2 separate regions of the Homo sapiens genome follow, and region 1 is linked to region 2. The links are contacts of gene promoters, found by promoter capture Hi-C in human tissues and cell types (Jung and others, 2019). All regions are on one chromosome and are shown on one strand. The core of a region is centred on a gene start or on the middle of the fragment in contact, and the rest is flanking DNA. Distances in the headings are between cores, read along the strand shown.

Region 1 (4,310 bases), core at 571-3,070, 280 kb before region 2:
ACTGCACTCCAGTCTGGGTGACAGAGCGAGACTCCGTTTCAAAAAAAAAAAAAAGCCAAGGCATAGGAACAGACCATTTTTAGAAGAGGAATTATAACTGGTCAATAAATGCATACAATGAGAAAAATATAAATTAAACTTTTAAAAAGCCATGTGATACTATTTATTTATTTCCCATCATGTTGGCAAAAAGAAATAAGAATTTGAGCTTGATAATATTGAGTGCTCCAGCATGGCCAACATGGTGAAACCCTGTCTCTACTAAAACTACAAAAATTAGCCAGGCATGATAATTTTAGCCAGGCAAAAATTAGCCTGAAATCCCAGCTACTCGGGAGGCTGAGACAGGAAAATCCCTTGAACCCAGGAGTCGGAGGTTGCAGTGGGCCAAGATTGCACCACTGCACTCCAGCCTGGCAGCCTGGGCGACAGAATGAGATTCTGGCTCAAAAAAAAAAAAAAAAAGAGTGCTGGAGAAGATTTGGAGAAACTATATTCTCGTACGGTGCTGTTTGGAATGCAAATTGATAGAATTTTTGTTTACAGCCCCAAAGCTGAGGACAAAACTGATTAATACAAAGCCCCACATTCTAAACCGAGCCGCAGACACACCCTTTAGGATTCCTAGTGAGAGAGCAGGTCCATCTTGCTAATTTCCACCCTCATCACCCACCTCAATGAGACAGCTGTGGTGGTTCCTCACCTGCCCCCACAGGGACGTCCCACACCTCAAAGCAAGTGAGGAGGTTGCTCCAAAAGAAGCCCTGACCAGCCTGGGCAACATACTGAGACCCCATTTCTACTAAAATTAAAAAGTGAAAATTAGCCAGGCAGGGTGGCGCACACCTATAGTCCCAGCTACTTGGAAGGCTGAGGCGGGAGGATCGCTTGAGCCCAGGAGTTGGAGGCTGCAGTGAGCTGTGATTGCACCTCTGAACTCCAGCCTGAGTGACAGAGACCTTGTCTCAAAAACAAACAAACAAACAATACAACAACAATTAAAAAAGAAGAAGAAGAAGCCCTTGTGGAGATTGGAGGCGGCTCTCCTGGGCTGCAGGAACCGGAAGGCTCAGATGAAGGCTGACAAGAGGTTCTTAGGAGAACCTGATGCAGGCCCCTGAGTGTGGCATCCACCAGTGCTGTCATCCAACCCAGAGGATTCTGGAGGAGGAACGAGAAGGTCCGGAGCAGCCCGAAGGGGCCAGACAGGGAGAGAGAGGAGGGCACGTCCTTTTGGATAGGTGAGAATAAATGAGACCCCTAGGCCTGGTGAATGCCAACAAAATGAGCGGGCTCTAGTGTTGTGGCGGCCCCTGCCCTAAACAGCTGCCTACCCTGGCAAAGGGACGGGCAGTGAGAGGCTGCCGGGAGTGGAATCCCCTGGGGCAGGGGCAGGGAGGAAGGACTGAGGGGTTGTCATAAGAGGCCAGCCAGAAAGCGTCTGCCTATACCACCTCAGAAGAAGCCAACACCTCCCAGGAGAGCACATGACAGGTGTCACAGATCATAGACACACCAATCATGTGTCACCCAGCCCCTTTTCCTCTGATTAACCTTGACCTTGAAGGAGCCAGCAGAGAGGAGTGGGGAGGGTTCCTTCACCACTTTAGGTCACCTTATTTATATTTACATTAAAAAAAAAAATACTGGGTCTCCTTCTAATTGCCCAGGCTGACACGTAGTGGCCCAATCATAGCTCACTGCAGCCTCCAACTACTGGACTCAAGCAATCCTCCTGCCTCAGCCTCCTGAGTAGCTGGGACCCCAGGCGAGCATCACCATATCCAGCCTTTTTTTTTTTTTCTGGAGAGATGGGGTCTCACTATGACTGGTCACAAACCCCTGGACTCAAATGCTTCTCCCACCTCGACCTCCCAAAGTGCTGGTATTATAGGCGTGAGCCACCGCGCCTCACCAGGTCTCTTTAAATTGGATGTGATATTAACTTTGGAACCGTGCTGGGCTTTTTTTTCATATCTGAAAATGAGACTCCCAAAGTGCAAAGCTATCCTCCCACCTCAGCCTCCCAAGTAGCTGAGACTACAGGCATGAACCACCATGCCTGGCTAATTCTTTTTTGAGATAGAGTCTTGCTCTGTCACCCAGGCTGGAGTGCAGTGACACAATCTCTGCTCACTGCAGCCTCTGTCTCCTGGTTCAAGTGATTCTCCTGCCTCAGCCTCCCGAGTAGCTGGGATTACAGGTGCCCACCACTGCACCCAGCTAATTGTATTTTTAGTAGAGACGGGGTTTCACCATGTTGACCAGGCTGGTCTCGAAATCCTCACCTTGGGTGATCCGCCTGCCTCGGCCTCCCAAAGTGCTGGGATTACAGGCATGACTCATCATGCCTGGCCAAAAAAATTTTTTTTAATTAAATTTTAAAAATAGGCCGGGCGCGGTGGCTCACGCCTGTAATCCCAGCACTTTGGGAGTCCGAGGCAGGTTGATCACGAGGTCAGGAGATCGAGACCATCCTGAAACCCCATCTCTACTAAAAATACAAAAAATTAGCCGGGCGAGGTGGTGGGCGCCTGTAGTCCCAGCTACGCGGGAGGCTGAGGCAGGAGAATCACTTGAACCTGGAAGGCAGAGGTTGCAGTGAGCTGACATCACACCACTGCACTCCAGCCTGGGTGACAGAGCAAGACTCTGTCTCAAAACATAAAACAAAACTACTCACTAAACTTGACAATATTACTTCTGATGAGGAGGAAAAAGAAATAATCAGCACTGGGGGTGTGGTCAAAGGAAACCTTCCCCTTATCTGTAAGATATAATTAAGTACAGACATGCGTTGTTTTATTGTAGTTCACTTTATTGCTTTTCATGGATACCGCATTTTCTGCAAACTGAAGGTCTGTGGCAACCCTGCGTCAAGCAAATCTATTGGTGCCATTTTTTCAACAGCACGTGCTCACTGCACCTCTCTTTGTCAGATTTTGGTAATTCTCACAATATTTCAAGCTTTTCATCATTCTTCTATCTGTGATGGTGATCTGTGATCAGTGATCTTTGAAGTTACTATTGTAATTGTTTTGGGGTACCACAAACCTCAACCATAAAAGATGGTGAACATAATGGATAAATGTGTGCATTCTGACTGCTCCACCAGTCAGTGGTTCCCCTCTCTCTCCCAGTCCTTGTGCCTCTTTATTCTCTTAGACACAACAATATTGAAATTAGTACAATGAGTAACCCTAGTGTCCTCTAAGTGTTCAAGTGAAAGGAAGGGTCATGTTAAATCAAAGGAAGCGTCATGTTAAATCAAATTATTAAGCTTAGCGAGGAAGGCGTTTCAAAAGCTGAGACAGAGGCTGGGCGCAGTGGCTCACGACTGTAATCGTAGCACTTTGGCAGGCCGAATCGGGTGGATCACCTGAGATCAGAAGTTTAAGACCAGCCTGGCCAACATGGTGAAACCCTCTCTTTACTAAAAATACAAAAATTAGCAGGGTGTGGTGGTGGGCGCCTGTAATCCCAGCTACTCAGGAGGCTGAAGCAGGAGTATCACTCGAACCCGGGAGGCGGAGGTTGCAGTGAGCCAAGATCATACCACTGCACTCCAGCCTGGGTGACAGACCAAGACTCTGTCTCAAAAAAAAAAGGCTGAGAGATAGGCTGAAGGCTAGGCCTTTTGCACCAGTTAGCCAAATAGTGAATGCAAAGGAAAAGTTATTGAAGGAAGTTTAAAGTGCTACTCCAAGGCCTGGCACAGTGGCTCAGCTAATAATTTCAATACTTTGGGAGGCCAAGGTGGGAGTATCACTTGAGCCCAGGAGTTTGAGACCAGCCTAAACAACATAGCGAGACCCTGTCTCTAAAAAATATTTTAAAAATTTAAAAATTAGCCAGCATGGTAGTTCACACCTGCAGTCCCAGTACTCAGGAGGCTGAGGTGGGAGGATCATTTGAGCCCAGGAGGTCCAGGCTGCAATGAGCCGTGATTGCACCACTACACTCCAGCCTGGACAACAGAAAGAAATCTTGTCTCAAAAAAAAAAGTGCTACTCCAGTGAACGTGAATAATAAGAAAGTGAAACAGCCTAATTGCTGATACGAAGGAAGTTTGAGTGATCTGGATAGAAGATCAAACCAGCACAACATCCCCTTAAGCCGAAGCCAAATCCAGAGCAAGGTCCAAATGCTCTTCAGTCCTATGAAGGCTGAGAGAGGTGAGGAAGCTGCGGAAGAAAATTTGGAAGTCAGCAGAGGTGGAAGTCAGCAGGGTTCATGAGGTTTAAGGAAAGAAGCAATCTCCACAACATAAAAGTACAAGGTGAAGCAGCAAGTACAGATGGAGAAGGCGC
Region 2 (4,936 bases), core at 1,458-3,957:
TCATAAAGATGGTGTCATTCTTACTGAGATTTGGGGATTAACAATTCATCAAATGACAAGGACCCCTGGAACATGGAAATATAAAACAACTTGGTGTTTTTGAAAAACCGCAAAGCGTTATGGTGTGGATGTAACACAGGGGTGTGGTGTCAAGGCGGAGGATAAGGCTTGGCCAGGTCAATAACCATACATGTCAGTGTCCCAAAACATGGACTTGGCAACAAAAGGAAAACAGCAGCGTAGTGAAGCCAAAGAGACAAATGACAGCAAGGCAGAGGAGAAACTGAGGCAAGAACGAAGGCAAGGAGACCAGGTGAAATGAATACCAAGGTCTACATTAAGTGGCAATGAGAATAGAAAGATGAAGAATAAAAAAGAAAAGAGCCAGGAGGATTCGGTGACCAACTGAGAGAGAAAAGGAGAGAATCACAGGCTGCCAGGCTGTACAGCTGAGTCGATGGTACTGCCACATATGAGTAGAGGGAAAATGAAAAAGGTAGGTTAAGGAGGTAGATAATTTGTTTTAAATCCCTTAAATCTGAAACATGTGTGGCCTCCAAATGAAACTGTCCCCCTACCAGGCATACAAGCCTAGAGATGTTGGCTGGAAACAGATACTTGGAAGTCATCAACATTTAGGTAATAGTTGAAGCTGTGGGTGTGAAAGAGATTGTCCAAGTGAAGTGTACAAAGTAAAAAAAAAAAAAAGAAGAAGAAGAATGAAGGGACCCCACAAACAATTTATTTAGAAAGGAAGAATAAAGAATCAGAGAAGGAAATGAAGAACCACCAGTGTTCCAGGCCCAGTTCAAGGCCTGAAGAATATCTTGTCTAGGGTGGAGAATAGGAGTCCTCGAAGGAAACAAGAGGGAAATGACATCGCCAAATGAGAGGCGGGGAATAGTGCTACCCAGGTAGGCAGTGGCCTTGTCACTCCCCTTGACTGTCAAGGAACTGGGAGATCCCACTCTTGTGTGCTATGATGCACTGTCTACGAATATACAGTGATAGGTATAGCAGCTAAAGAGTCTTTACCTCACCCTTCAAGAAGTCGACACCCCAGCCACCAGGGATACACTTAGGACACCTGACCTGCACCTTTCTGGAAGATTAAGTGTACCTCCTATCCAAAACAACTGAGTCTCACAGCCTCAGAGGTTGCTAGATCTGGCTGAGATCCTTTCATTGGAAACCCTTTTATTCAGCTATAGTGCCAAGACGCATCCTCCACACCCTCTTAGGACTACCACACCAGGAGCCCAGCAGACACTTACCTTAAACTTAGGGACTGGGAGGGAAAAGTCTCTGTTTTTGGACCTGACATGGCAACGGGGGTCTTGGAGGTCTTCGACTGGTATATACTTTGAGTCCTAGGAAGGAAAGCAGCAGCAGAAAGAGAGCTCAGGGTGAATCCAGGCTAGGGAGCTCCAAGCAGCCCATCTGGACACACACATGCAGAAGAGCTGGGTCCAACTGCCCACTTTCAAGAAGGCAGGCTACCGTTCTAGGTGCTGAACAGAATCACAGAGGACGGGCGCCTGGAGCTCCCCGGATGGCAACCAAAGACCCGGGCACTCACGTTGACACTGAAGTGGACTCCATCATAGCGGTACACCTTCTGAGAAGGCCTGCGCAGGGCAGGGTCCAAGGCAGGATCCACGATGAGCTTGTAGTTCCGCCACTGGAAGCTCGGGGCCTTCTGCCCATCTCCCCCACCTTCCTGATCCATCTTTGCTCATTTACACTGTTAGGGGAAGAGGGACACGCAAGAAGGATCAGGACTTGGGGCCTGACTCCCCTGCCTTTCCTCATTGGCTAGCCCCGATTCCAGGTTCTCCCATCACTCCAGTTTCCAACCCTCACCCTGACCCGGGGCTCCCCCGGATTCTCCCCCAAGTACCCTCTGTTTCGCCACAACAACCCAGCCTCTTTCCACCTCCCAACTCTACTGTCAGGCCCCCAGGCCCGTCTCGAGCCCCCTTACCTTCCCGCTCTCCCTAGCGCGCGCCCCACTTGGCCTCGGAGCAAGACCCCTCCCCCGCCCCCTGCAGGCCCCGCCCCCTCCCGCCTCCTCACCGGCCAGCGGCCCGGGCCGAGCCCGGCCACGGCTCCCACACACCCGCTCTCCTCCCCGCGCCCCGATCCTCCGGCCGAAAGGTGGCACCTCTTCGGGGCGTTGGAAACACCGCGAGACCGAGCCCGAGACCCGGCTTCGACCCCGAATCCGGGCGGGGGGGTGGGGGGAACGTGCACCGCTGCCCTCTCCTCCCGCCCCGGCGCGTTCTGCACCCCCCCCAGCAGGTCTCCGCGCACGCGCGCCGCGCGGCCCCACTCACCCGCTCCCGGCGAGCGGCTCCCCCTCCCCCCACCTCGCGCGGCACCTCAGCGGCGCGAGGCGGCGGCAGCGGCAGCGCGAGACCCGGCCCCGCAGCGGTGGCGGCGGCGGCGCCCCCCCACCACCACCTCCCCGGCGCGCGCACCAAACACCACTGCCACCTGCGCGAGGCCCAGCGGGCACAGGGTCTGCATTCGCACTTTCGCCACAGGCGCTGCCGGGGGACCCACGGGGCCGAGGGTAGCGGCTTCGCCTCGGCCGGCGCCCTGGGAGGCTCGGAAGTTGCGGCCCAGGGAGCTTGGAGATTGGCCGCATCCCCCGGAGAGTCGGCTTCGCCACGACGATCTAGATGCTGCGGCCCGGGACCTTGACGAATCGGCGGCGACGAAAGCTGCGACTAGTCCCTGAGGAAAAGGGGCGGGGCGGAGGGGAGGAGGCCAGCCAGCGCTGGGGAACCTTCAGTGGCGCGTTCTGCAGACGCAGATTCACCGGGCGGGCGGGGCGAATCGCTGGACAGGATGCGCGCCGCTTTGCTTCTCTTCCCCGTCCCTTCCTTGCACTGCCAAATTCTGAGAGGCTGCAGATTCGCCACTGTTCCCGGCCTCAGCCGTAGCCTCCCCTTCATCCGCCTTGGTGGAGTCAAGAAAATAACGGCCCGTTAGCCAATCCCTGCTGGCAGAGTCGACAACTTTTTTTGGATTTTTCTTACTGGCCCAAGTGAGAGAATAGCCCGCTTCTGTCCCTGGGGAAAATGCCTCCAGCCCAGCGCTCCTCTCAGAGTCCGATGAGAATTTTCAGCCGAGTATCGAGGGACCCGAGGAATTCTGAGGATCCGACCTGGCGAATCTGCGGATTCCGCTGTGGGCGGGGCCGAGTCAAGGGGCGGGGCCAGGGCGTGCAGAGCCTGGGACTAGGGGGCGCCTCCGGGAGGACCCACGAGGACTCACCCGGATGGGAGGGACGGCCGGGAGGTGGAAAAACACAACCGTGAGCGGTGACTCAGGCGGTTTGCCCCGCCTCGCACATAAATGCAGGGTACCTTTCCTTCCCGTTATTGCCCTTGGGTGTCTGGCTGCTTAGGATGCCCATTTGCCAGATGGGGAGAGTGAGGCCTGTAGAAGGTGCCCTACTTTGCCGTACTCAAACCCACCATTAGTGGTTAAATCCAGGGACCGCCTCAAGGTTTTCTGATGAGCCTAGTGGGGCCTAAGTGCCCTTAAATGGGCCTTGTAATAATAAACGAGGTCCTACAGGAACGGGACTGGACTGGTGTGTCCTCCTGGCGTCATGGTCCCACTGCCCGCTTCTTTGGCTATGGCGCCCTATGCTCACGGGATGCCTCCGCACAAGGGCAGCAGCGGCCCAGGCCTACCCCTGGAACTCGGGCTGAGGTTTCTGAAGGCTGGGCACCGTTTTGATCCCGTGTGGGCGCAGGCACTCCCAGGAGGTCCCTTTTCCTGAGCTGAGGATGCCCCAAGCTCCTGATATGTGTACATCAGGCCCTCGCTATATGGCCTTGGGCAAGTCATTGACCTAAGTTTCAGAGTCTTCCTTTAAACTTGGATGTCAATTTGTACACATCCGAACAGTGCAGAAAAGACCCTTAGAGCCTGGTTTATGCAAATTCACCATTTTAAGTAATAGGAAAAGGTGGAAGGGAGACTTATCCAAGGTCTCACACCACAAGATAGAAGAAGATTAGGACTCTACAATTTTGAGGGAAATAAGGCTGAAAAAAATAATTTACGTGGAGGCATAGGTGTTGAGATCAGATTCCTTTCTGTTCCAGTTGAAAGGCACTGGTTCCTTTTCTCAAATCAAAGAGAGATTCCCGTGTGAGGGGTAGATAGTCCAAGTTCAGTTTCATGGACTAGCTGTGTGGTTTTGGGCAAGATCTTCAGCCTTCTTGGGCCTGTTTCCTTATCTCTGAAATGAAAATGATAAAGACTTAACGCTTAAGGTGTTGTGAGAGTTAAATAAGATAACCTATGAAAGTCCCCTAGTATGTGGTAGTTGCTCAAGAAAGAAACTTGAGGCCAGGTGCAGTGGCTAACACTTGTAATCTCAGCACTTTGGGAGGCCAAGGTGGGAGGATCACTTGAGCCCAGGAGTTCAAGACCAGCCTGGACAACATAGTGAGACCCTCCTCTCTACAAAAAAAAAAAAAAATTAATTAGCTGGGTTGGTGGGACGTCCTGTGGTGCCAGCTATTTGGGAGGCTGAGGTGGGAGGCTCATGAGCCTGGGAGGTCAAAGCTGCAGTGAGCCAAGATTGCACAGCTGCACTCCAGCCTGGGCAAAAGAGTGAGACTGTCTCGGCTGGGCGCGATGGCTCACACCTGTAATCCCAGCACTTTGGGAGGCCAAGGCAGGGGGATCACTAGGTCAGGAGATCAAGACCATCCTGGCTAACACGGTGAAACCCCATCTCTACTAAAAATACAAAAACAAAATTAGCCGAGCGTGGTGGTGGGCACCTGTAATCCCAGCTACTTGGGAGGCTGAGGCAGGAGAATGGCGTGAACCCAGGAGGCGGCGCTTGCAGTGAGCCGAGATCATGCCACTGTACTCCAGCCTGGGCGACAGTGCAAGACAGAGCGAG

Evidence for each region. Contacts are between HindIII fragments. The study calls those that stand out against the background at their distance.
Region 1: a contact is called between a fragment that was not itself captured here and the fragment with the promoter of SETD1A in region 2, in 2 of the 25 tissues and cell types used here (lymphoblastoid cells and spleen).

The regions. Positions count from the first base shown.
Region 1 is chr16:31,236,761-31,241,070 of GRCh38, reverse strand. No RefSeq gene overlaps it. Among named protein-coding and RNA genes, the nearest start is that of ITGAM, 21 kb to the left of the region's middle. The HindIII fragment of the contact is 6,547 bases long and covers 1-4,310 here.
Region 2 is chr16:30,955,525-30,960,460 of GRCh38, reverse strand. SETD1A (SET domain containing 1A, histone lysine methyltransferase) reads right to left here and starts at 2,707. Exons shown (of 19, transcript NM_014712.3): 1 at 2,497-2,707; 2 at 1,580-1,744; 3 at 1,275-1,370. The coding sequence starts at 1,729. RefSeq lists silencers at 1,999-2,088, 2,229-2,448 and enhancers at 3,049-3,178, 2,636-3,399. The HindIII fragment of the contact is 8,587 bases long and covers 1-3,624 here.